4 separate regions of the Homo sapiens genome follow, and all the other regions are linked to region 4. The links are contacts of gene promoters, found by promoter capture Hi-C in blood cells and fetal thymus (Javierre and others, 2016). All regions are on one chromosome and are shown on one strand. The core of a region is centred on a gene start or on the middle of the fragment in contact, and the rest is flanking DNA. Distances in the headings are between cores, read along the strand shown.

Region 1 (7,124 bases), core at 1,871-4,370, 620 kb after region 4:
ACCCCACCAACCCAGGTACACTGTCCCAGGGAGATGGGAGTTTTATCTACAAGGCCCTGACTGGGGCTGCTGCCTTTCTTTCAGAGATGCCCTGCCCAGTGAGGAGGAATCTAGAGAAGCAGTCTGGCCATAGCTTTGCTGCACTGCGGTGAGTTCCACCCAGTACAAACTTCCTGGCAGCTTCCTTAACACTGGGAGGGGAAAACCGCCTACTCAAGCCTCAGTAATCTTTTGTATTATTCTTAAGAACAATTTAAAAAACTACTACTCATATTTGTTTAGTGCTTTTCCGTTTATACAACATTTTCCATCCATTTTCTTGTTTGGTACTTACAACAATCCTGTGAGATAAGTAAGATGAGTATTCTTTTCTAACTTTTAATTAAGAAAAATTTCCAACCGATAGAAAAGTAGATAGAATGGTGTTATTCATCTCCTGAAACTTACAATATGAACAAATCACTATTCATCTGTCTTTTTTAAAAACTGAAGTATCTTAGTAAATTGCAAGCAACATGTCATTTTCCCTTATTATACCTAAAAAATTAATAATTATCTAATATCATCTCGTCTATAATTCATAATCAAATATCCACCAACAGTAACATGAATGTTACTTTCTCATTTTACAGATGTTACCTTTTTGACATAACCAAGTAAACCAACAGGCTTGAAGACACACCGATCATAAAAATGAATCTAAGAACCCAGGTGTAATCTTCTGATTTCTAGGTCCCAGCGCTTCTCATTTTTAAGCAGAGTTTCATAGAAATACTCTATTCAAACAAACAAACAAAAAAAACAGAAAAGCCACAGACCTCTGTAACATTTAAGCAGAGGTGTCCTCTTAGTAAAATGTAAAATACATGTGTGAAATCTGTTTCCAACAAGCTCTTATGTTATTTTTAGTGGCCCTTCTCATCACCTGTGGTGTTTTGTTTTGCCCTCCCTCAACCCATTTCTATTGCCCCCATCCATACTTTAGCCAACACCATTCTCTGATATGCTGGGTTGCCTGAGTGCCTCACCATGTCTACCTAGCCCATGTGTCTCTCTGTCCCCATCCACAGGGGTAACACCATCTTGCAGAGAGCAAACACTCTAAGAAGGCCTGATGGACTCATCTGCCTGAAAGTGGTCATAATGACTGGCACCATAACCCATTCTGAGTGTCCATGGAGTAATATAGAGATGATAGTAGTTTGCCTCATGGAATCTTAAGAAATAACATTGTTATCATGATTCTTGCAGCATTATGAGTATTGGCAAGGTGTCCCTGCAATAGGTTAAAGGTGTGCACTCAATTTATGCAATCCCTCCCCACCCACCCAGAAATTTTCTCTTCCATTTAAATTTTTTACAATCCTCTTTAAGTTTCAACCCCTCCTCTCATGACAACTATTACACACATATTCAAGTGAACCTAGCTGCCGCTCTTGCTTCACTTCTAGTATAGAAATGTTTACATTTTCTTCCACGAGGTTCTTGGCATCTTTTGACAGTACCTGCCAATGACCACTGAACATTTTTCAGATGGATGTGGGTATGCTCCAAATCATGACATCAAAGGTATTTCTTGGATCTACTGAATGATTTAGCCTAAGTGAATCAGACAAATATGGAAATTATGTAAATCTTATGTGTCACCCAGGGGAAAGAATGTGAAACATTTTAAGGCAAAAACAAGTTCTGGTTATTATCAGGCAACCTTGGAAATGTGAGATGACAAAACAATGTAATGTTGCCCAACTCTGGAGAACAAGGAAGGAGAAAAATTAATCAGAACAGATCTCACTTCTCATTCCAGACTCAAGCTGCTTAGACAGGAATCCAAATTAGTGTGCCCCCACTCCAGCTCCAAATAAAGCACTTTACACAAAAATAATTAAAAACTCTGTATATGACACCTTCCTTCCAGGGTTTGCATATCAACATAAAAGCATTAGAGAAAATTCCCAGATGCTACAATTCCAGACATAAAAAATTGTCCAAAAGGCCTTTCTTTGCATCCCTGAAACCATACCACATTTATATCAGCCACACTTCTTAATTGGGAACAACAGAATCCACTGTATCCACTCTATATAGTTTAGAGGGAAAATGATGGTGGGGAGGTTTTTAAAAGACACATTTGCCCTCAGAATTATTGAACTAGCTGGAAAAACAGATTAGAACTGAAGCTTTCAGGAATAATGCCCAAAATCACACAGAACTAATTCAATGGGGAAACAACATATAAATCCCTGGAACTAGACTATTCTGTAGCCACTCCTCCCACCAGTACCAATTCCATTTTGATCTTGTGACTAGGGTAAAAGTTGGATGTCTTTACAGATCCAGAGTCAGTTGCTGTCTCATATTTGAATTAAAGTTTCATGTTTATGTCTGATTGGCAGAGCCTAGGCCTATCCTAAGCTCTTTGAAACATTAACTCATTTAAGCCTCAAAACAACCCTAAAAGGTTGGTACTATGAATATCCCTTTTTATAGCTGAAGGAACTGAGGCACATAAAATTATGTAACTAGTCTGAGATCACATGAACAATCAGTGGCAAAGTTGAAATTTGAATTAAGATGGTCTGGCTCCAAAGCTCAAGATTTCTTAACACTTTTTTTGTTCTGTTTTGTTGAAAATATTATATTCACATGTTTGCATCCTAGCTGCAAGGAGGTGAGACATTGGTTCACTTACTCAAATCTAAAAATGTTATTCAAAGATGACGGGTAAGCGTAAATATGACAGATGTCTACCACAAATTTATAGAATAGGTAGGGCCATTCCTTTATATTTTTGTATCCCCTTAAAATTGTGGAATGTAGGTACATTTCTGTGTATATTTACTATCCACAGTGGTGGTCTCTAAAGACAGCTCCACATTGCTCCACCCACAGCCTTCTGTGCACATATGTTGCTCCTCCCATAAAAAGGAGGAGGCTTATCTCTCCACCTCTTTTGAATCTGGGCTGACCTTGTGACCTTTGAAATTCTTTAGGACATTCAGTGAAATGCAGCAGAATGAAGCTATGCCTGGCCTTTAAGAGGCTGGCAGCTTCTGCTTTTGCACTGGGGAAACCAGTTGCCATGTAAGAAATCCATCTACCCTCAGCCTGCCATGCAGTAGGGAAGCCCAAGCTAGCCACATGGAGAGACCACATGGAGAAGAATACAGTCACAGATGGAGACAATTAAATCCCTACACATGTGTTACCCATAGAACCATCCCAGCCAGCTCCTCATCCTTCAGATCATCCTGGCCAAGGCTCCAGACATCCTTACACTGCTTTGTCCAAATTCATGACCCACATAATAATGAGCAAGCAAAATGGTAGGTGTCTTAAAATGCCAGATTCCAGGGTAGTTACACAGCAACAGATAACTTAGACACAAATTAACACTATATTCTCACCTAATTAATAATAAAAATTTTGCATCTCATTAAATTTCCTTTTATAGCAATAGTGAGCAAACTTTTTCTTAAAGGGCTACATAGTGTTTTAAGTTTTGCAGGCTACAAAGCAAAATTGAGGCTATTATGTAAGCTCTTAGATAACCATTTAAAACGTCAAATCATTCCTAGCTCAAGGGCCATAAAAAAATCAGGCAGCTCACCAGATTGGCCCATGAGCCGCAGTTCGCTGATTTCTGCTCTACAGCCTCGCTTTTGATATTTGCTTTGTACCTCCTGATAGGAACTCCCTATAACTCATTTAATCAAGACCCTATTCTTGAGCATTTAGTTTGTTTGTAGTTTTCTCACTATCTCAAAAACTGTCATATTAAACCTTGTGGTTATTTCCTTAAGGGGTGGTTTAAAGAAAACTGTATTTCACGTTGCTATTTGAGTGTGAGCAGCATGAGTCCTTCCTCCTCAATCAGGGATAATCTTTTTCTCTTTTGGCTTCCTTAGAACTCCATAGTTTGGAGTCAGACTATCACTGAAGCCCAAATCATTGCTTCCCTAAAAGAGATTAGCAATCCCAGGCCCCAGGGAGAACACAAGTGCCCCCTTCTCACTTCCTCCCTTTCCCTCTCAGCAAGAGGTGGCCAACACTAAGCTTTAGCTCCAAGCTTGACAAGCTTCCAGCTAGGAGGTGTCCCACCCTTCTGCAGGTGAGCCAGCCTCTGGCTTCCCCCAGCTCCCTCTCCTGGCACTTGATTCTTCCCCTTCAATTCTCAGCCTGCAACAGGCCCCACAGCGGAGCACAGCAGGACAGAGGACAGGATGAGCCCTGCTGATGTGGAGTCCCAGACAAGGTCACCTATTGGAACAGGCTCTGCGTAAGCCTGCATGCTCTAATCCTGTAACCCAACTATCTAGTGGAAATCCATTGCTGCTGACACTGTCCTTCAGATATTTTTAAACTGTGATAACTACACTTACATGGAGTACATGAAAAACAGAAGTTTGGCAGCTTTGCTGCTGCCCCACAGGCTGCTCCCCATCTCCTCTCCCCAAATGCCCCATTTCCTGCTTCCCCAGCCAGATCCTATGCATTTCTTAGGACACAGTTCTCACATCTTGCCTTTGAAAAGCCCAGCCTCACCTTTCCTCATTCATTCAGCTCTTTGGTCCAGCAGGTCTTAGAGTTTGCACACCACTTTCTCCACATCTTGTTATATTCTGGCTTGTCATATCCACTATTGTTCCACAGAAGTCAGCATTGTCAGCACAGCTAGATTGCCTTCTCAATGAGAGCATGAAATGTGATTTTACATCTATGGCCCTTAAAGCAGCTACTGGCAGTGCTGGGCACACAGCAAGGAGCTCATTAATTATGTTGATCGATCAGAGGTCATTTTAGGATTCAACTTAGGAAAATTCCAAACTACCCACTCAGAAGTGCCCAGTCCATATTGAGAATTCTGCAACTAGCGGTTTGCTTGTTTCTTCTTCAACTTTTATTTTAAGCTCAGGGGTACATGCGCAGGATGTGCAGGTTTGTTACATAGGTAAACGTGTGCCATGTCCCATCACCTATGTATTAAGCCCAGAATCCATTAGTTATTCTTCCTGGTGCTCTCCCTCCCCCCACTCTCCCCGACAGGCCCCAGAGTGTGTAGTTCCCACCCATGTGTCCATGTGTTCTCATTATTCAGCTCCCACTTATAAGTGAGAACATGCAGTGTTTGGATTTTGGTTCCTGCATTAGTTTGCTGAGGATAATGGCTTCCAACTCCATCCATGTCCCTGCAAAGGACATGATCTCATTCCTTTTTATGACTGCATAGCATTCCATGGTGTATATGTACCACATTTTCTTTATTTAGTGTATCATTGATGAGCATTTGGGTTGATTCCATGTCTTTGCTATTGTGAATAGTGCTGCAATGAACATATACGTGCACGTATCTTTATAACAGAATGATTTATATTCCTTTGGGTATATACCCCTGTAATGGGATTGCTGGGTCAAATGGTATTTCTTCCTCTAGGTCTTTGAAGAATCGCCACACTGCCTTCCACAGTGGTTGACCTAATTTACACTCCCACTAACAGTGTAAACGTGTTCCTTTTTCTCCACAATCTCACTGGCATCTGTTGTTTTTTGACTTTTTATTAACAGCCTTTCTGACTGGCATGAGATGGTATCTTACTGAGGTTTTGATTTGCATTTCTCTAATGATCAGTGATGTTGAGCTTTTTCTCATGTTTCTTGGATGCATGTATGTCTTCTTTTGATAAGTGTCTGCTCATGTCTTTTGTCCACTTTTTAATAGGATTGTTTGTTTTTCTCTCATAAATTTGCTTAAGTTCCTTATAGACTCTGTATATTGACCTTTGTCAGATGGATAGATTGCAAAAATTTTCTCCCATTCTGTAAGGTTGTCTGTTCACTCTGTTGATAGTTTGTTTTGCTGTGCAGAAGCTCTTTGGTTTAATTAGATCCCATTTGTCAATTTTTGCTTTTGTTGCAATTGCTTTTGACATCTTCATCACGAAATCTTTGCCCATGCCTATGTCCTGAATGGTATTGCCTGGATTTTCTTCTAGGGTTTTTATAGTTTGGGGGTTTATATTTAAGTTTTTAATCCATCTTGAGTTAATTTTTGTATGTTGTGTAAGAAACGGGTCTAGTTTCAATTTTCTGCATATGGCTAGCCAGTTCTCCCAGCACCATTTATTAAATAAGGAATCCTTTCCCCATCGCTTGTTTTTGTCAGGTTTGTCAAAGATCAGATGGTTATAGGTATGTGGTGTTATTTCTGAGTTCTCTATTCTGTTCCATTGGTCTGTGTGCCTGTTCTTGTACAAGTACCATGCTTTTTGATTACTGTAGCCTGGTAGTATAGTTTGAAGTTGGGTAGTGTGATGCCTTGAGCTGTGTTCTTTTTGCATAGGATGTTCTTGGCTGTTCAGGCATTTTTTGGTTCCATATGAATTTCAAAATAGTTTATTATATGTTGTAATTCTGTGAAGAATGTCAACCATAGTTTAATGGGAGTTTTAACATTGAATCTATACATTACTTTGGGCAGTATGGCCATTTTCACAATATTGATTCTTCCTTTCGATGAGCATGGAATGGAATGTTTTTCCATTTATTTGTGTCCTCTCTGATTTCTTGGAGCAGTGGTTTGTAGTTCTCCTTGAAGAGGTCCTTCATTTCCCTTGTTAAGTGTATTCCTAGGTATTTTATTCTTTTTGTAGCAATTGTGAATGGGAGTTCATTCATGATTTGACTCTCTGCTTGCCTGTTGTTGGTGTGTTTTTTGTGTTTGTTTTTAGAGACAGAGTCTCATTAAGTTACCCAGGTCAGCCTCCAACTCCTGGGCTCAAGTGCCTCAGCCTTTCAAAGAGCTGAGACTACAGGCATTGCCATCACACCCAGCTTGGACACTGGTTTTTGCTAGCCCTGGAGTCAAATGAAAGAGCCAGTGAAATAGGAAACAATTAGGAAACAAAGACCTGAAATCTTATCTGGTTCTCTCACTTAAGACATGTGAATTTGAACCTCATCTGTAAAGATGGGAGAATATAATACTTTATAATTCTATAAAGCTTTTTATGAGACTCAAATAAAAGCAGCATGCTTTGTATATATTACTTACTCAACCTGCAACCACATCTGAAAGGTGAGCGCTGTTGTCCCCATTTTACAGATAGAATGATAGAAACCTCAAA
Region 2 (6,415 bases), core at 2,448-4,947, 640 kb after region 4:
AGGTGCTAATAGTTTTTTTGTTTTGTTTCGTTTTGAATTGTTTTGTTTTGTTTTTTGGTGGTGAGAAGACTGGTTAGACATTTCCTTATCTCCTCTCCCAGCCAAGTTAACCCTCCTCTTTCTGCCTGAAAGATGCCATGATCACTGTCCAGTCTGAAAGAAGATCTGTGATTAAATGTTTCGAAAGGTAGCTCTGCACTATGAGAATCTTGGACCTGAAATGGAATAGGAAATGTCTTGGCCAGGTTCATGGACACAATTCTAGGACATGACTCTGGTTCATGACTTAATTCAGTATGTCTGATTCGTAGACTCTTCCTGCTTCAGAAAGATGATCTCGTGTGCTTTTCTTAACATTTTGATCCTTAGCCAGTAGGTAAGATCAGATAATCTCCTTCATGCTTCTTTTCAGGATATGCTATTCTTTCAAATTTAGCCAAGACAGAGGATTCCATTCCAGACATTCTTTCCATGAATGGCATTCAGTTAGGAATGTTGTTATGCTTCCATCTTTTTTCACTTAATAAAGGCTTCAGCCAATCTAAGTTACAAATAAGCCTGACCCTACTGAGTTACAAAAGTTATGTTTTCTGTAGCTGGTTTAAGAGAACTGGAATCTGAATTGGCCTTCTCCAAGACTACAAGATTGAGTTGGATGACCTTTGCAAAGGTTTCTGGGAGGCAGCTAGACTAAGAAGCATGGGTCTTTCCCCTTCCTGCCTGGAAAAGTATACAGCATGTATAGTTTACCCCTTGGACAGAGCTAGTCCCAAGAAAATTCCTAAAGCTGGAAAAGCTGGCTACTGAACACCTAATACTCAGTTTCTCTTTTCTAAAATTCCTCCTGCTCTTAGAAACTCCCCTATTGCCCAGATGTCATGCAACTAAATTATATTGCAACCATACAATGGAATACCGTGCAACCATTAAAAAAATATTGTGGAAAAATATTTAGCAGCATGCAAGTCATTCAGGTATTCCCCCAGGCCTCCAATTCTCAATCAGAGCATAAAATTTGTCAAATATTTTACTCTGGTCATTGTTTCCTGAGCATGTAAAACCACACCATTTCCTGCACCAAGTCAAGGTTTACGGTCTTAGTTCCAAGAACTAGTTTATAAGTAATAAACCAGACTATTTCCGGTTAGACTAGCAATAAGAAAATATACTATAATTGTTCTTTTTATTGAGAAGCAGTGACATGGATGTTTATCCATCCTAACATTCTCAAAGATGCAAACTTCTCACTGGAATTTAAAAGACATCCTTTTTGAGTAACCATTAGTTAATACTATTGTTTTTCGAATAAGATATAAACCCTAGTCCATCAGTTCATGGCTAGGGGATTTTGAACATGTAACTTAATCTCTTTAAGGCTCAGTTACTGTATTGACAAAATGCAACTACAATAGTATTTATCTCATGTGGTTAATTGAAAAAGTAAACAAAATAGTATGTACACAACTTATATAGTTCCTAGTAGTCAGTAGATTCTCAATAGATGTCAGCTATTATGCAAACTGCAGGACCTCAGTTTTATCCTCCAGCCTGTATTTAAGAAGGGAGTTGAGAGAGTCTCATCCTCATGGATAAGAGCAAATCACAGACTTCACCAGAGTTTCTAGTCTGTCTTATGAGGGAGTCAGGAATTAAAGAACAGCTTTGTATGATTCTCTGTTTTGTTTTTGACCCAGTCTCTCTCCCCTGTGAAAAGCAGCAAGAGAGGTTTCACTTCTCTATGAGACATAGCAGGGAAGCAGGACCTTGCTCTGGAACCAGTCTTAGGGAACTGTTAAGTTTAAAGCGTACCAAGGGACAAAGCAAGGAGAATGGCCTAAAAGGAGAGAGAAGCCAGCTGAGACCATAGGGCCTTGGCAGTGGCAAAAAATAAGGGCAATTTGGGAAGACAAAGATGGGCCTAAGAAATTGTCTTGGGAATGAGCAATAGGAGGCCTAGGTAGGATTCCTGTTATACAACAACTCTTTCCCATCAGGAAGCCAAAACTACTCTTGGACTTGGTAATTCCCCTGTCCATATGACACCTTAGCCAAAAGGGTAAATCTAATTCCAGTAAATGAAAGTATTTAGAGTCCTCACAGTGAGGAAAACTGTCTGCAGGCACTGGTGCAGAAATGTCGATGAGTGAGAAACTCCAATATGTTTGTTTTGAGAGAAAGAGACAGAGACACCCACAACCACTGTAAGTCAGAACGTGATCCCTGTGCTAGCAGAGGTACAATGTGCTGTGGGGCATGGGGGAGGTAGCTCCAGTGTACTTACTAAGAAGCGTGAGCATGTGTAAGAGTGGGAGGTGGAGAGGGAGGGGCAAGAATCAACATGAGATTTACAACAAGAACATCTCTTTTCCGGGACTGCTGACATATCCTGGGCTTTCTGCCAGCTCTGACCACCACCTGTTCAAAAACCAGAATGAAAAGCATTCCCCTTCCTCAGATTCATGTTGACTTGCTCTTCCTTCCCATTATAGTTTGCCTCCCTTTGCACTTTCCAAGAAATTATAACCCTGGGCTCAAGTGAAAATGAGGATCATCTGATTTCAGCTTGTTAACAAGGAATATTGGAGAGTCTGAATGGTGACGACCATCCATGGCCTGTTGATATATAGTGTGTGCCTTTCTGCCCTGCCTTGTTTGCTGGTCTGAGATTTTGCACCCTCTGTGAGTGGCTAGAGAATTAGGTTACTTCCTAACTGCTTTCAGGCTCACCGTTTCCCTCAAAAATCCTACATTCCAATTCTTGAGGTCAGACTTCTTTGGGGCTACAAGGTAAAGGCACTGGCCTTGTTTTCCTAGTTCCTCTCGGTGTGATGTTAGATGTTTAATTTGAGATCTTTCTAACTTTTTGAAGTACGCATTTAGCACTATAAACTTTCTTCTTAACACTGCTTTTGCTGCATCCCAGAGATTTTGGTATGATGTGTCTCTGTTTTCACTTATTGCAAAGAATTTTTTTTATTTCTGCATTAATTTTGTTGTTTACCCAAAAGTCATTTAGGAGCAAGGTATTTAATTTTCATGAATTGTGTTGTTCAAGAGATCTTTTTGGTATTGATTTTTGTTTTTATTCCACTGTGGTCTGAGATTATGGTCAGTATAACTTTGATTTTTTTTTAATTTATTGAGGCGTGTTTTATGGCCAAGCATGTGGTTGATCTTGGAGTATGTTCTGTGTCTGTGTGCAGATGAGAAGAATGCGTATTCTGTGGGTGCTGGATGAAGTATTCTATAGGTGTCTATTAGGTCCAATTGGTCAAGTGTCAAGTTTAAGTCCAGAATTTCTTTGTTAGTTTTCTGCTCAGTGATCTTTCTAACACTATCAGTGGGGTGTTGAAGTCCCCCACTATTATTGTGTAGCTGTCTAAGTCCTTTCATAGGTCTAGAAGTAGTTATTTTATGAGTTTGGGTGCTCCAATATTGGATGCATATATATTTAGGATAGCTAAGTCTTCCTGTTGAATTGGAAACTTTATCATTATGTAATGCCCTTTTTTGTCCTTTTTTACTGTTATTCGTTTAAAGCCTGTTTTATCTGACATAAGAATAGCAACCCCTGCTCTTTTTTGTTTTTCATTTGCATGATAGGTCTTTCTCTGACCCTTTACTTTGAGCCTATGGGTCATTACATGAAAAGTCAAAAACAATAGATGCTGTCAAGGCTGTGGAGAGAAGGCGATGCTTATATACTGTTGGTGGGAACGTAAATTAGTTCAGCCATTGTAGAAAGCAGTTTGGAGATTTCTCAAAGAACTTAACCATTCAACCCAGCAATTCCATTACTGGGTATACATCCAAAAGAAAATAAATAGGACACATGTACTTGCATGTTCATTGCAGCACTAAATGCACCATGTCTTTTGCAGCAACTTGGATGTGGCTGGAAGCCATTATCTTAAGCAAATTAACTCAGGAACAGAAAACCAAATACTACATGTTCTCACTTATATGTGGGAGCTAAACATTGGACATAAAGATGGCCACAATAGACACTGGAGAGTACTAGAGAGAGGAGGAAATGGGGAATAAGGTTTGAAAAACTAACCACTGGGTTCTGTCTCACTTGTCTGAGTGACAGGATTAACCATACCTCAAACCTCCGCATCACACACTATACCTGATATGGTATATCTATATACATATACCCACCCAAATCTCATCTTGAATTGTATTTCCTATAATCTCCACATGTCATGAGAGGGACCTGGTGGGAGGTAATTGAATCATGGGGGCAGTTACCTCCATGCTGTTCTCGTGATAGTGAGTGAATTCTTATGAGATCTGATGGTTTTATAAGGGGCTTTTCCCCCTTTTTCTCAGCACTTCTCCTTGCTGCCGCCATGTGAAGAAGAATGTGTTTGCTTCCCCTTCCGCCATGATTGTAAGTTTCCTGAGGTCTCCTCAACCATGCTGAACTGTGAGTCAATTAAGCCTCTTTCAATTATAAATTACCCAGTCTCAGGTATGTCTTTATTAGCAGCATGAGAACGGACTAATACAATCCCCATATAACAAATCTGCACATGGGACCCCTGAATGTAAAATTAAAGTTTAAACTATTAAAAAAAGAAAAGACATTGGCTCATTATGACCACATTTTGTGATTGTTCTGAGAATGGAGTCTCAGGAAGGCTCTGCAGGTGCTAGCTGAACTCTATGCCAACTCTCACACTGGACACCAGAGAAGATTGTGCTAGTGAAATGGGAAAACCAGGTTTCAGGAGATGGGGAATAAGGTAAATGAGTGCCAGGTTACACATGGCAGGATTTGCTCACTCATTTAACATTTAGCAAATATCACTAGAGTGTCCAGTACATGCATGCAACAAGAAAAAGGCACAGTCCCTCCACCCAACAAGACTATGGTCTACTGAGCGGGAAAGGCAACCAAAAGATAATTAATATACTACAGTGTGATCATTGCTACAGTGGGAGAAAGTCAAGATGGAATAAAGTAATACAGGAGAAGGAAATAACTCTAAGTTGTTGCGTTGAAATAAGGCTCCTGGAAAGAAAGCAGAGGCAGATTTGAGAAGCACAAGGCATGCATGGGGGTCCCCAGGCTGGATGGCAGAGGAGGGAGTGGAGGGGTGCAAATCAGTACCTGAGGCAGCCAGGGCTTGGTTGACACACTACCAAGAGTGCCCCATCTCTCATTCTTTCCTCCTCTATCCCCTCCCCTTTCTTTTGATGGATCTTCTCCCATCAGATTTGTACACCAAAGAAATAAGCACTATAGACCACAATAAAAATGGATCCAAGTGGCTTTTTAAAAGGCAACCTCACTTAATTAAGATATTCAGTCTCCATAACCCTGAAGGAATTCACTGGAAGTGCCAGTTTTCCCAGCAGCCCAGCACCCAAGAGGGAAACTAGATATAACCACACTTATGCTGCCTTCCCTCGTTTCACTCTTTCTCTTCTTTCTCCTCTCTTATCCTTGACCCTGAGAGAGAAGAGGAACAAAACTGAGTAGAAAGAGGTAAAGGAAAGGATGAGTGGATGAAAATACAAGAAAAAAGAATGGCAACACATGAGGAATGCTGGACTACCTCCTGCATATGGGCTATCTAAAGTGTTCCTCAGCAGACCTTTTTTTTTCTTTTCTTTTCTTTTCTTTTCTTTTTTTTGAGACAGAGTGTCACTCTGTCGTCAGGGTGGATTTCAGTGGCACAATCTTGGCTCACTGAAACTTCCGTCTCCCAGGTTCAAGCAATTCCCCTGCCTCAGCCTCCCAAGTAGCTGGGCCTACAGACACACACCACCATTCCCGGCTAAATTTTGTATTTTAGAGACAGGGTCCACCATGTTGGCCAAGGTGGTCTCGATCTCCTCATGATCCACCCACCTCAGCCTCCCAAAGTGCTGGGTTTACAGGCGTGAGCCACCACACCCGGCCAAGAGACCTTTTCTTAACAAGGATTTTCTCCCAATCCTCCCGGATAAAAGGATGGAAAAGGAAGATGAAGGCAAGACCCTTGGCCCAGAAACACAGCAAAGGTGGTCTGGTGAGAAGGCGGCAGAGGCCATCTCTCTACTGCACTCCCTCTCCCCTGGGCCCTTTTCCCCGTCCCCTGCCCTTGGGCAGTTGTCTGAGAGACCTGAAGTTCTCTGCACACTTTCCCCCTTTCTCTGACTCTTTTCTATTCTCTACCAACTGTGATGCCTACAACAGGCCTGAGTGGCTCCGCTCCTGCTCTTACACAGGTGAACCTCCTCATGAACTCCCAGGGGGACATATATGGCGTACTGGACATAGTCCATTTCTCAAGGACAGCAGGATCCAACCTGTCCATTAGCAACAGCAGCACTGTGTGAGATAAGCAATGAATGAAGACACACATGGTGTCCTTCCTCTTAACAATATCAGTGACAATACAACAATCTTCTTTTATGGAGC
Region 3 (6,933 bases), core at 3,153-5,652, 570 kb after region 4:
TACCACTCTTTCTGAAACTATTCCAATCAATAGAAAAGGAGGGAATCCTTCCTAACTCATTTTATGAGGCCAGCATCATCCTGATACCAAAGCCTGGCACAGACACAACAAACAAGAGAATTTTAGACCAATATCCCTGATGAACATCGATGCAAAAATCCTCAATAAAATACTGGCAAAACAAATCCAGCAGCACATCAAAAAGCTTATCCACCACGATCAGGTGGGCTTCATCCCTGGGATGCAAGGCTGGTTCAACATATGCAAATCAATAGAAGTAGTCCATCATATAAAGAGAACCAAAGAAAAAAACCACATGATTATCTCAATAGGTAAGGCCTTTGACAAAATTCAACAGCCCTTCATGCTAAAAACTCTCAATAAACTAGGTATTGATGTGACATATCTCAAAATAATGAGAGCTATTTATGACAAACCCACAGCCAATATCATACTGAATGGGCAAAAACTGGAAGCATTCCCTTTGAAAACTGGCACAAAACAGGGATGCCCTCTCTCACCACTCCTATTCAACATAGTGTTGGAAGTTCTGGCCAGGGCAATCAGGCTGGAGAAAGAAATAAAGGGCATTCAATTAGGAAAAGAGGAAGTCAAATTGTCCCTGTTTGCAGATGACATGCTTGTATATCTAGAAAACCCCATTGTCTCAGCCCAAAATCTCCTTAAGCTGATAAGCAACTTCAGCAAAGTCTCAGGATACAAAATCAATGGGCAAAAATCACAAGCATTCCTCTACACCAATAACAGACTAACAGAGAACCGAATCATGAGTGAACTCCCATTCACAATTGCTTCAAAGAGAATAAAATACCTAGGAATCCAACTTACAAGGGATGTGAAGGACCTCTTCAAGGAGAACTACAAACCGCTGCTCAATGAAATAAAAGAGGACACAAACAAATGGAAGAACATTCCATGCTCATGGATAGGAAGAATCAATATCATGAAAATGGACATACTGCCCAAGGAAATTTATAGATTCAATGCCATCCCCATCCAGCTACCAATGACTCTCTTCACAAAATTGGAAAAAACTACTTTAAAGTTCATATGGAACCAAAAAACAGCCCGCATTGCCAAGACAATCCTAAGCCAAAAGAACAAAGCTAAATGCTCCAATTAAAAGACACAGACTGACAAATTGGATAAAGAGTCAAGACCCATCAGTGTGCTGTATTCAGGAGACCCATCTCACATGCAGAGACACACATAGGATCAAAATAAAGGGATGGAGGAAGATCTACCAAGGAAATGGAAAACAAAAAAAAGCAGGGGTTGCAATCCTAGTCTCTGATAAAACAGACTTTAAACCAACAAAGATCAAAAGAGACAAAGAAGGCCATTACATAATGGTAAAGGGATCAATTCAACAAGAAGAGCCAACTATCCTAAATATATATGCCCCCAATCCAGGAGCACCCAGATTCATAAAGCAAGTCCTTAGAGATCTACAAAGAGACTTAGACTCCCACACAATAATAATGGGAGACTTTAACACCCCACTATTCAATGCAATTCCAGTTAAAATTTCCATAGAGTCTAATGTCAACATTAGACAGATCAACGAGACAGAAAGTTAATAAGGATATCCAGGAATTGAACTCAGCTCTGCACCAAGTAGACCTAATAGACATCTACAGAACTCTCCACCCCAAATCAACAGAATATACATTCCTCTCAGCACCACATCTCACTTATTCTAAAATTGACCACATAGTTGGAAGTAAAGCACTCCTCAGCAAATGTAGAAGAATAGAAATTATAACAAACTGTCTCTCAGACCACAGTGCAGTCAAACTAGAACTCAGGATTAAGAAACTCACTCAAAACTGCTCGACTACATGGAAACTGAACAACCTGCTCCTGAATGACTACTGGGTACTGGGTACATATCGAAATGAAGGCAGAAATAAAGATGTTCTTTGAAACCAATGAGAATGAAGACACAACATACCAGAATCTCTGGGACACATTTAAAGCAGTGTGTAGGGGGAAATTTATAACACTAAATGCCACAAGAGAAAGCAGGAAAGATCTAAAATTGACCCCCTAACTGCACAATTAAAAGAACTAGAGAAGCAAGAGCAAACACATTCAAAAGCTAGCAGAATGTGTTGTTATTAACTGAGGTGGGAAAATGCAGTAGTTGCTGGTTTTCGGGAGAATATTAGGGGCTCTGTTTTGGTCATGTTAAGTTTAGGTGCTTAGTAGACATCCATATGAAAATGTCAAGTAGTCAGATAGCTAGGTCAGGAATCCAGAGGACGTGTCTAAGCTGGAAATACTAATTTTGGAGTCATTAGCTTATATGTGGCACTTAAAGCCTTGATAATGGGCAAAGCATGTAGGTAGAGTTGATCAAAATATAAAATGTTCAAGGACTGAGCCTTGGACACAGATTGGGAAGATGAGGAGGAACCAGCAAGGAAAACTGGGAAGAAGTCAGAAAGATATGAGGAAACCCAATCTTGTGTGGTATCCTGGAAATCAAGGCAGGAGGATGTTTGCAGGAATAGAGTGAGCAACTTTGCCAAATGCTGTAAATAAGTCAGAAATTAGAACTTAAAAATAGTTGGATTTAACAGCATGGCTGTCACAGAATGACTATAAGGGGAAAAGCGTCAGTGGATTGGTAAGAGCAGAAACTTTTGAAGAAGGGTTGAGAAGGCCTGGGAGAAGAATTAATGACAACTCTTTAAAGAGAATAATTTTAGACGACAGTTGTCTCATAAGCATCACTATAGAGGCTTGGAGAGAAAAAGAAGCTTGCAGAGAAAAAGAACTACAGCTGAAGTGGAAGTGTAGTCAAGAGATGGTGTTTTGTTTGTTTATTTTGATTTTTACATGAGAGAAAAAATAACAAGTTTGTACACTAATGGGAATGATTCAGTGGAAAGTTTAACACTTAGTATAATATCCAGTGTATCAACTATATATATATATATGCTATTTTCTTAATAATTTGAATTCATAAATGCATGCCCCTAGAAACTGGTTATGTACTCCTGATTCTTTACATTTTCAATTTCATTATTTCCACTAGGCACTAATCGTATTAGCAATTTGATCTGCAGTTAAACTGTTTTCTGGTATGGATAAGAGAAAGAAATAATAAATAATACATTGTTAGAACCCATCATAATTATACATTTTTGATAAAAATATGATTTCATTAAGAGTTTTATAAACAGCCATTTGACACAAATTACCTGCCCTTACATTGTAACAGTTTTAAAAAATAACTGTTGATTTCAAAATTAAAATGAAACTTCCCCAGGCATAGACTGTCTTCCTCTTCTTTCAACTACTACTGATTAGTAATTTATTTAACCCTGGATGTTTATTCAAAGTTCCAGTGGCAGTAAAGTTGATTTATCCTAAAAGTCTGATATCTGTGGACCCTGATCCCCCCTAATGGGAGTGGTACATCAACTTTTTAGGTAATTCAAGAAGTAGCTCCTGCATTGGCAGTCCCTTTCACTGACTTCAGTATTATCACTTGCTCTTGGTGTTACCTTAACAGTTCCTTCAAGAGAATGTCTTCGACATTGTGGTTTCCTGCCCAACTGCAGCTTAACTTTATAATAAAACACCCTTCAACCCTTCCTTCCTGTTGCTTCTGCCCTTGCCCCAAGCCAAGAGTAGTGAAAACTCTGCTAAGTAATAACTATAGGATTTCTCTCTTAGCCTCTTGGCCTCTACTTTCATTCTGGATATTATAACTTAGGCCACAAAATCATTCACAATTCCCATTGCAAAGCTTTTTATCTCTTTTCTATTAAAAACTTAATATTGTATAAGCTTCTCTCCTACCAGATGCCTCAACTTTACTCTTTTGTAGTCTGTTTTAGTTTTTTGCTTATTGAGATTAACCTCACACATTTGATTTTTTTAATAGTTATGCATTTTGAAGAGAACAAGGAATAGCTTTAGACTGCAGTTGCCTCAGAAACCTCATTTAATGTTTGATAGGGCAAATATTTCTTCTCTGTTTTTTTATTGACAGGTACAGTCACATGCCCATGTGTTAGAGCATAACAAGTATAGCTTAAAATTGCTTATAATAGTCACTAACATTTGCTGAGCACTTATTCCATCTCCAGCACTCTGCTAAACGTTTGGCACACATTATCTTACTTGATTCTGTATTTTGCTACTGACAAAACTAAGAATTTGGGAAGGTTAAAGCATTTGTCCAGGGTTACACAGCTAATAAATAGTTGATTAGGGATTTGAATACAACTGATCTGACTCCAGTAGCCACCTACTTAACCACTCAGGAGAGAGTTTGCTTGCAGGATGATGTATAAGGGCAAAACTTGTCCAGCCAAGTCTCAAGGGCAGAGGAGAGAGATCTCTCCTAAAGAAAAGAAAGCCTTGGTAGCAAGGAGTTATAATACACTGGAAGTGTAACAGTCCCTTGAAGTTCCATTATTTATCTTAAAATTTGTGATGATTTTGCATTCTGCTTCATAATATATTTATATTGCTTTAATATAAAAGAAATATTTGGCTCTATTAAAGGACAAAAAAGATGCAAATATTTACGAACCAGATGACAAACATTGTAAGGATATCAGTTTTCCCCAAATCAATCTACTATTCAATGCAATTCCAGTTAAAATTTCCACAGAGTTTTTGGGCAAAACTTTCTAATACAATTTTTAAATTTATATGACACAAAGACATTCACAGATAGCTAAAACAAGTTAGGAAAAGAAAAACCAAGAGTAAATGTTTCCCCTATCAAATATTAAGACATAAGATAAAGCTGTGATAATAAAAAACACAGTAGTGTTAATTTAGAGATTAACAACGAGAACAATAGAAAGCTCAGAATCATGTTTATAAATTATGCATCTACATACACACACATACATATGTGTGTATGTATGTGTATATATAAACTATGATCAGATGAGAATAAGGTATATTATTCACAATATATTGCTGGAAGCTTTTGCTTATTTTACAGAGAAAAATAAAATAAGTTTCCTACCTCACACCATGTATAAAAATAGACTTCTGATACATTAAATGCAAGAAGAAAGAAAAGAAGGGAAGGGGGAAGGGAAAAGAAGGAAAGAGGAAGGAAAGGAAGGCAGAAGGGGAAAGAAGGAAGGAGGGAAGGAAAGAAGGAAGGAAGGGAAACAAGGAAGACATAGGAGAATATCTTTATTACACCTGGGTGAGGGAAAGATTCCATAACTATATTCCCAAAGAATAACTCACAAAGAAAAATAATCTGATATATTTTCCTATTTCAAAATTACAGATAAACACAGAGTTGCTGTCTATCTCATTGCCTTATTCATTTTCTTCATAGTGTTTATCGCTTTACGATACTGACTAGTTTACTCATTTGATTTGGGGTCTTGTGCTCATTTAAAGGTATGCTTCAGGAGGGCAGGTACTTTGCCTATTGTGTTTACCACTGTAGACACAGCGCCAGAACTGTGTCTGGCATAATATGTGGGCAATAAATGGGTCCTTTGTACATTGTCTTAAGGATTTTTTAAATATTCCTGAATTTTATAGATCCCACCGCTATCTGGGATTCCCTTTCCTTACCATTTTGCAGGTTCTACTGAAACTTCCTCTAACATAACTCATAAAGGGTATCTACAAAACTGCTTATTAGAGAAATTTCAGGTTCTACCATGCCTGAAACTCTGATTGAATCCCTATAGGCAACAGTAGGACTATTATGACAATGTCTCTTGAATGCGTCATGTAGGGTTGATCCTTTTAGAGAGACAATACCTTTAGGATATAACTAAAACCAAAGAATTGAAAATAGAAGAAAGCATATTTCAGCATAACTCTATAAATTATTTTATCCCATTGCAATTGTCCAGAAAGGAAGCAGGTTGACTTGAGAAGCAGTAAATTATGCATCACTGAATGTGTTTGGGCAGAGTCTGGAGGACCACTTACCAGAAGAGAGAAAAGGTGAGAAGAAATGTTCTCCAAGGTTCCTTCCATCCTCGAGCTCTAAAATCCTTAACCAGTTTTTTCTTATACCCACCTCCTCTCCACAGGACTCTTCCCTTCCCCCTATCAGGAATATTGAAGCAGCATGATGCCAAAAGCAGTTATAAACACTATAAATAATTATTACTCTCAACACTTGATGAGTGACACCAAAAATTAAAGGAAGCTTGCACCGTAAAGCAAGCACATTGCAGGGTATTTATTTTTTGGCTCTGGAATACAAAGACACATAGTCAGAGACACACATTCATCTTCCATTCTTAGTGTCCCATGCTCGCCCCCACTAAGGGAGAAGCTCAGGTGAACATCATGCAAATACTCCACGGTGTGGGCTGAAATTCATAGACAGAAGGGTCAGCACGGAATAAGGCATGCAGCCTCCCGTCTCTTGAAACTCTGTGGAGATGCTTGGTCATGCACAACTGAACACATTAAGAGTTTTGCTCTAGTTTTTCTCTGTCTACAAGAGAGGTCCTACTCCCTGTTGCTCTTCTTTTTTAAAAAATAAGGATCCCATGAGAGTGGCCTTAGAAGTAGGAGGCAAAAGTTCTGAGAATGGGTACCAGATGCTCAGGAGTTGCATTCCCATACTGATAGCACCTAGGGATCTTGTGGGAAGCTGAGGCTGCATCTGGGGCCTCTCCACCTGGCAGGAGTCCCCCAACCCCATCCCTCTACTCCGCACCTCCCACCTACCCTCCCAACCCTGGCTCGAAAGCTCATTGCCAGGAATCCCCAAGAGGGCCTCAGGACCCTGTGATAGACAATCCCACTCATCTCCCCACCCTGCTCTCTGCCTCCCCACCCCAGTCAGCTCTCTGACTTACGCTATAGAGCCTAGTGATGCTTACACTATAGAACTCTCTGGCACTATGGGCACTTGCACATCCCTTACCTTATTTGATCCTCCTAAGAGCC
Region 4 (6,495 bases), core at 595-3,094:
AGTCAATGCAGCCCCTGCCCCTGTGACGCAGCAGGGTCAGACCACCAGAGAAGGAAGCCCCAGCTAACCTGGGGAGAAGGGTGCCCATACCGCAGTGCACCTTCCAGGCCTCCCTCAAGTTACAAGGAGTTGCCAGGGAGCTGTTCATTCTACACACACCCCACAGTTCTTCAGGTTTTCCTTTCCACAGTAAAACACAGGAAACTACCTTTATGCCTGAGACACTATGACAATAATCTCAATGAAGAAGTCTCCCCAAAATAAAATATAAAACAAAAGCTAAAAGCCATTAAAGAACTACATTTTCCATGGCTCAGGGATACCTATGCTTCCCAGTAACACCTTGGAAAGACGCTTCACCTTGACTAACCTTGAAGTGTGATGCATTATTAACCCTTTAATTTTCAATCAAGAGAGACTCACAGGCTGCATTTTTTTTTCTTTACAAAAATTCATATATTCCAGCTTCTTCCATTTCAAAATGTCAGCTAAGCACTATTTCCCTGACTCATTCTCCTGCCGATTCCCACAGATCCTCCCAAGCAGGAACACCAATCGGCCTCTGTTCAGGACTCCCTGAATGACTGCAGTGGTGGTGCCAGTGGTGTTGGTGGTGATGGTCATGATGATGATGATGATGATGATGATGTTGGAGGAGGAGGGGGCAGTGATGCAGCAGGGGGAGTTCCCTCCCTCCTTCCCTCACGCAGTCACGACTCATAGATTCGCCTACAACTCTGCCCTTCAAAATGACCTTTTTTTTAAAAAAAAAAAAGTCACCTTTCCGGAGAGGCTGAAAACAAGAAATCTAATTTTCGATGGAAAAAAGTCTATCCAACCAAGCAACAGGCTGCACAAAATATTTTAAGATCAGCTGCTCTGCGTTTATATTCCCTTCACCATAATCAACCCAACCTACTGACTGATCCACAACTGTCTGTGTAGACCTTGAAAACAACCAGACTTTGCCAGGTTTCGGGCCAAAGCTAAGAATCGGAGTCCTGAAATGGAGCTTATTGAACCATTTCTGGGTGGTGATGACTCCAGGGGAGGTCATGGAGGGAAATCCTTAGCCATCGCTGTGAAATACTACAGTGTGGATGGATTCCTCTCCACCCTTCTCTTTCCTCTCTTTTGAGATACGTATTTAGACTAGAAGAAAGATGCTGTAACACACAACCTCGTCTGCATTAGATCCCATCACCTCACGAGGTTCTCTCAAGACCCCAGATCTCATTTTTTTTTTAAGGACTCAGGACACGGGAGAGACAAATGTAGTCTCGCAGAGCCTGACTATTCCCAGGAGTAAAAGGCTCAACCGATGCACGGTAGGAAAGACTGCAAATTACCAAGCCAAGATCGCTACGATATGCATAACCTTCCGCCTGTCGTGTTCCAGCCCCGACCCTGCGCCCCACTCTGGGGACACCGCATTCCGCACAGGACTGCAAGCCCAGGCCGGCGCGACCCAGCAGCGTCCACCACCCTCGCCCCCGCCACCCCGGCCAGCGCGGTGGGTGCGGAACCGGCCGCGGACCCTGCGCAGGGGATGCGCCGCCCGGGAAAGATCAGACGCGGCGGCCGGGAGCTGCGGACCCCGTACTTACACCAACTGCCACCGGTCCTGCCCAGAAACTCCTTCTTCTCTGAGTTCCAGATGAATTTCTTCCAGCTGCCCTCCTCCTTGGCTTTCCCGCGGGCCATGGCGATGGCGGGTCAGCAGCTGCCGCGGTCCGGAGGGTGGGTGGCTGCGGCGCGCGCCCTGGCGTCCTCTGCGCCGCTCGGCTTCTCCGGCCTGGCTCTCTGCAGGCAGGACGCGCCGCTGCCGCTGCGGCTCTCGGAGTGCGAGACGCGCGGCGGAGGAGCCAAGGCAGGAGCAGGAGGAGGGGGAGGCGGCGGCGGCGGCGGCGGCGGGGCGGGGGCGGAGGGAGGGACGGCGCAGGCTGCGCGGCTCCGAGCCCCGCACCTATTGGTGGGCGCGCAGCCGCTCGCGGGCTTTCTTTGGTCCGCCGAGCGCTCCTCTAGCCCTTGGGGGGTCGGGGGCTCCGCGAACCCGTAGCTGCCGCTCCCGCTGCCACTGGGGACGTGTGCTGGGCCCCCGCCTCCCCTGACCTCTGCAGAGACAGGCCCGGGGTAGGAGAGTCAGAGAGGGAAGGACGGACAAGCGGACTGCGGGGCGCCACCGGCACTCCCGCCAGGAGCCGAGGAATTGGCTGCGCCCGCCCTACCTTTACTATATACCGCGCCCCGGCGGCCGTGCGCCCCGCCCTCTAGCGGCCCGGTGGCCAATCGCCGGCGCCAGGGGCAGGGACTCGGCCCGAGAGGGCGGGTTCGGGGCCGGCACAAAGGAGCCGCCGGGGCTAGAGGGGCCGCTTGGATCGCTGGGCGCGGGGCGTTGGGCGCGGGGCGAGGAGGAGGCGGGGGCGGCGGTGAGGGACGCGCAGGCAGCGCCGCGCAGCCCCCTCCCAGCTCCCGGCTGGGCGTGAACCGCCCCTTCCGTGGCTGGGGGATCCGCACCTGGGTCGCCCGGAGCCTCGAGGACCCCAGCCCGGCAGTCCTGGCCCAGCCTCCACGCCTCTGCCTGCCCGCCCGCGCTTTCGGCCTCCCTGGGCTGTGGGTCCACCCCTCCTGGGCGCTGGCGGGGTGGGGGAAGGTCACTCCGGGACGCCGGACTGGCGAGGACTCTGCCCAGCTCCGCCCCGCCTCCCGCTCCTGCACCTGCCGCCCCCTCGCACTCCCCGCCACTGCGGTTGCAGTTCCGGCCCTTCCCTCTTCTTTGCAGGCCAGCCCAGCCGGCAGCCCCGGTTCCTGACTGCCCGGCTGTGCCCCTTGTGGGCGGCCTGAACCACCTCGAGCAGGACAATTGCCAAACCCACCCAGGGCGGTAGCCCGCAGTGAGTTGTCCCGTAGAAACCAATTGAGACTCAGGCCAGTCTAGACCCCAGGCAACAATATCTGCACGTGACCCAGCCACCGAGGACTTTCTTGGTGCCCGGTCGGCGGCGGGTATTCTCATTGGCATGCTTTTATGCCCCCTTGGGGGTATCGATCCCTTTGTTCTGCTGTAAAATTCTTGGAGCCAAAGGACCTTTGGGAAAACCTAGCGCATAGGGCAAGATGTTGCAGACCTGGGGCATAGAGTACCCCTTCCCACTCTTTGTCCGCTGTTGCTGGAAAGCCAAACTCTTGGTTTCATCCCTCTCCTATGAGCCCCCAAGCAGCTTTATACATCCCTCTGAGGACAGTGACACAGCAGAAAACACCGGGATGCTTCTGCTTCCACTGCAGAGAAGCCCTATCCCCAGGGGCCATCATGGCCCATCTTGACGTCCCAGCCCCATATCAGAGAATTCCCCAATACCAGGATGCTTGTCCTTATCCTGGCCACCCTTCTGTCCCCAAGGTCAACCTCGCTGGCATAAAGACAAGCCCGAACTGATTAAGAATGAGCATTTTTCTAATCCTTCTCCAAGCTCGCCTGCAGGACCTGTGCAAACCTAAACATTCCTGAAATTCGGGGGAGAAGCGACCACCTATCCACCAAGCCCCAGTGGGGGAGGCTGCAGGGCTCTGTCAAGGGCATCCGAGAGAGAGAACAGCTTATTGAGAAAGGAAGCCACCTCTCGTTTAGCACCTGTAATGTTTATGTTGGAAAAACCCCAGCTTGGTAGTATGAGAGCTGCAGGAAGATGCTGCACTTGCGGGTATGATGACCCTGGTCCCCTTCAGGCAGAAGTTACCTTATCGAGTAGTTTTCCAGCAGGACAGGTTGCTGGGAAGGGTATGTGTTGTTGAGTGTCCATTACTGTAACAGGAGGGAAAACCTGTAGGCAGAATCAGCAAAAAGAGATGAGTGGGGAAAGGGTAGCATGGGAAGGGATGAGGCGGTTCTGGGAGTTGGTGGTGCCCTTACTTGTGCCCACTCCGTTCCTGTACCTTGATTCCCAACCCCCCTTCCAAAAGAAGCATATGGTAAGACAAAATATATAAAGAGAGTCTCCAGTGACAGATTTTCTTTTTTCCTAAAACAAGTGTCCTACCTTAGCTCTTCAGAGGTGTAGCAAACACCCAGTAGACTGATGCTTGGTCTCTAGTCTTTGATTTACTGTCTTCCACTGGGGAATATCTTCCCCTCTCAAATTTTAGGTCCCTAGCTCTACTCATCCCCCCTTCCCTGCATGGAAACTCTTCACAGGTTCAGATGAAGTCCTGAGGGTCACGTCTGCACAGCCAATGCAGCAGCTCATCCTAAGCCAGCCTCCTCCAGCCTTCCTGAAAACCTCCAGGTTTCCACCCAGTCCTGGGATTGCTGCTGGAAAACATGATCTCAGCCCTATAGGAACCAGATTTATCTCAGTAGCTCATCTCAGACTCCACTTGCCCCGCCACTCTAGACCATCTGGAATTGTACCACTCATCTAACCACTTCATCACACAGAACAAGCTGGTAAAGACCTACATTCACCTTCCCAGCTTCAGAACATGCATGCTAGCTGGGTGACCTTGGGCAAGTCACTTGTTCTCTCCAGGGCTGTTCCCTCAGTCATAAAATTGAAGTGATACATTATTGCAAGGATAAAAGGAGCGATATGGGAAAGTGTTAAGCACAGTGCCTGAGGCATGGCAAGAGCTAAGTAGCTAGCTTAATTATAATCAGCTGTTTCCATTTGACCTTGGCTAACCTTGGGGCTGTTGCTATGACTTTGTCACCTTCCCACTCTGATACCCACCCCATACCAGGACTCTGAGTTCCCATCAGCCCCTAGAAGGTCACCCTGACGCATTCCCCACCCTCTCTGCCACCTTTCCCCTTGCTTTCCAGTGCGCTTCCTGCTGTGTGACCTCCTCCAACTCAAGTAATGAATAACTCAAGTACTTTATGTCCCGTTGGGCTGTGCTGAGCTGGGCTTTTGTTCCAAGGCCCCTTCTGTGAAGGGTGCTGTAGCAGCAGGTTGAAAGCCGAACATGTGTGGTTCTCCAAAGGGAGGGGTGCCCCGGCAGGTGGAGTGTGTGGCTGGGCGTGGAAGAGGGTGTGGACCATGGGGAACTAAGACAACTTTTCAGTCAATGCGTATGGAAACCCAGTGTTTCTCTGCAGAAAGGAGAAAGAAATTATTCAGTTCAGTTTAAAGGCTCAGGAGGAAGAGAACAATTTTTAATCCCTTTTTTCAGTGCAGGCTGGGGAAGAGGCATGGTTCTGGAGTCCTGTGATTGGTTCTGCCCAAGGTTAGTGCTCTGTGGGTGGATGAGGGGAAGCGGAGAGCAGGAATGGCAGGAGAGCGGTGAGAGACCTCCGTCCCAGTGAGGATGACATGTTCTAACTCAGGAAATGAATAGATGCTCTTGCGATTGAAGAAAAATCTACGCTGGAGGCAGACAGGCTGGCAGGTAAAAGCAGGACAGAGCAGTCCTGTTTGTAGCAAGGTGGCCAGTCAGAAGCTGGGCTGGGAGAAGAGGCAGGACAAATCAACCCCTAGCAGTAAGATCCTTCTGTTCAGAGAAGCTAAAGTGAGGGGTGCCTGCAAAAGAGAGGGCGCAACTTGGCAGGCTGCATGAGGTCGAACCAGATTTGAAAAACAGACCTTCCCCTCTCTGCCCCTCCCCAAATATTGGCTCTCTGAATCTCTCTGCCAAACACAATGCAGACTGCTCTTCAGAGGGCTCCGCAGGGCTGAGCTGCCAATCCCACCTTCACACACGTGCTCACTCACAGTGGGGTTCTGTTTGGCCAGCCCTAGAGTATTTTAAGTACAGCGTGGAGGGGATGAGGGTATGTGTTGCATGGTGACTCATCCTGGCAGCAGAAACTATGTGCAGTGCAGAGAAAAATGGCTCAATGGCAGGCTCTGTTTGCAGTGGAATGCACAGCTCTGCAATGGAAGACAAAGAGGGCTGGGAGAGGACGAGCTCTGGGAAATGCTGCTGGACTTGCCACCTTGGCCAGGACATGCATAGATACCTGGGTTGCACCTAACATGGGGCTGGGCTGAGTGCCTTACCATCACAGAAGGATGCCGGATTGCTCCGGGGCTTCATTCTGTGCTGCACAATGGACCTGGCCTGTTTGACAGAAAACCAAATCATTCTCCAAAATGGTTCTGGTTTCTAACAATAATTTAGCACTGCTGCAGTTTAAACCCTATCCGTTCACTTCTTTCATCTGAAGGCATTCTGTTCTGGCACTTTCCTATTTTACTGGATCTGGAATCGAATCCTTGTGTGAGGACATAGTATGGAAATAACAAAAAAAGGACTTTTTTTTTTTTTTGCTAGGGATGTTGGTAAGCGGACCATTCGTGTCATCAGTGGGAGTGGTAGGTTACCCGCTCAACACCTTGGCTCCCAGGCCTTGACTAGCAGACTCCCAGAAGTTGTTTTCTGCTGTGCTGTTTCCTGTTTCCTGAGAGGACGTCCAGAAAGCATCCCTGATATAGTGAGAATACTGGGATTTCTCTCCACCTGCCATGTCCTTTGCCAAATTATTAAACGTGGATA

What was found. Contacts are between HindIII fragments. The CHiCAGO score rates a contact against its expected background, and 5 or more counts as called.
Region 1: a fragment that was not itself captured here is called in contact with the fragment with the promoter of ATP1B1 in region 4 in 2 of 17 cell types (fetal thymus and M2 macrophages); the score reaches 8.9 in fetal thymus.
Region 2: a contact is called between a fragment that was not itself captured here and the fragment with the promoter of ATP1B1 in region 4, in 1 of 17 cell types (fetal thymus). The highest score is 7.1, in fetal thymus.
Region 3: a fragment that was not itself captured here is called in contact with the fragment with the promoter of ATP1B1 in region 4 in 1 of 17 cell types (fetal thymus); the score reaches 6.3 in fetal thymus.

Annotation. Positions count from the first base shown.
Region 1 is chr1:168,478,267-168,485,390 of GRCh38, reverse strand. LOC125312414 (a long non-coding RNA gene) reads left to right here. Exons shown (of 8, transcript NR_176090.1): 3 at 85-148. LOC101928565 (a long non-coding RNA gene) reads left to right here. Exons shown (of 5, transcript NR_176057.1): 4 at 85-148. Among named protein-coding and RNA genes, the nearest start is that of XCL2, 62 kb to the left of the region's middle. RefSeq lists a silencer at 2,894-3,094. The HindIII fragment of the contact is 1,876 bases long and covers 2,183-4,058 here.
Region 2 is chr1:168,462,294-168,468,708 of GRCh38, reverse strand. LOC125312414 (a long non-coding RNA gene) reads left to right here. Exons shown (of 8, transcript NR_176090.1): 4 at 4,336-4,432. It overlaps LOC101928565 (a long non-coding RNA gene), which reads left to right. Exons shown (of 5, transcript NR_176057.1): 5 at 4,336-4,595. Among named protein-coding and RNA genes, the nearest start is that of XCL2, 78 kb to the left of the region's middle. The HindIII fragment of the contact is 7,450 bases long and covers 1-6,415 here.
Region 3 is chr1:168,532,384-168,539,316 of GRCh38, reverse strand. No RefSeq gene overlaps it. Among named protein-coding and RNA genes, the nearest start is that of XCL2, 8.1 kb to the left of the region's middle. The HindIII fragment of the contact is 1,156 bases long and covers 3,825-4,980 here.
Region 4 is chr1:169,102,039-169,108,533 of GRCh38, reverse strand. ATP1B1 (ATPase Na+/K+ transporting subunit beta 1) reads right to left here and starts at 1,844. Exons shown (of 6, transcript NM_001677.4): 1 at 1,608-1,844. The coding sequence starts at 1,704. LOC101928596 (a long non-coding RNA gene) reads right to left here and starts at 4,410. Exons shown (of 2, transcript NR_135799.1): 1 at 4,041-4,410; 2 at 3,627-3,824. RefSeq lists enhancers at 1,135-1,707, 1,708-2,280, 2,069-2,363, 2,854-3,427 and a silencer at 1,877-2,796. The HindIII fragment of the contact is 9,537 bases long and covers 1-6,495 here.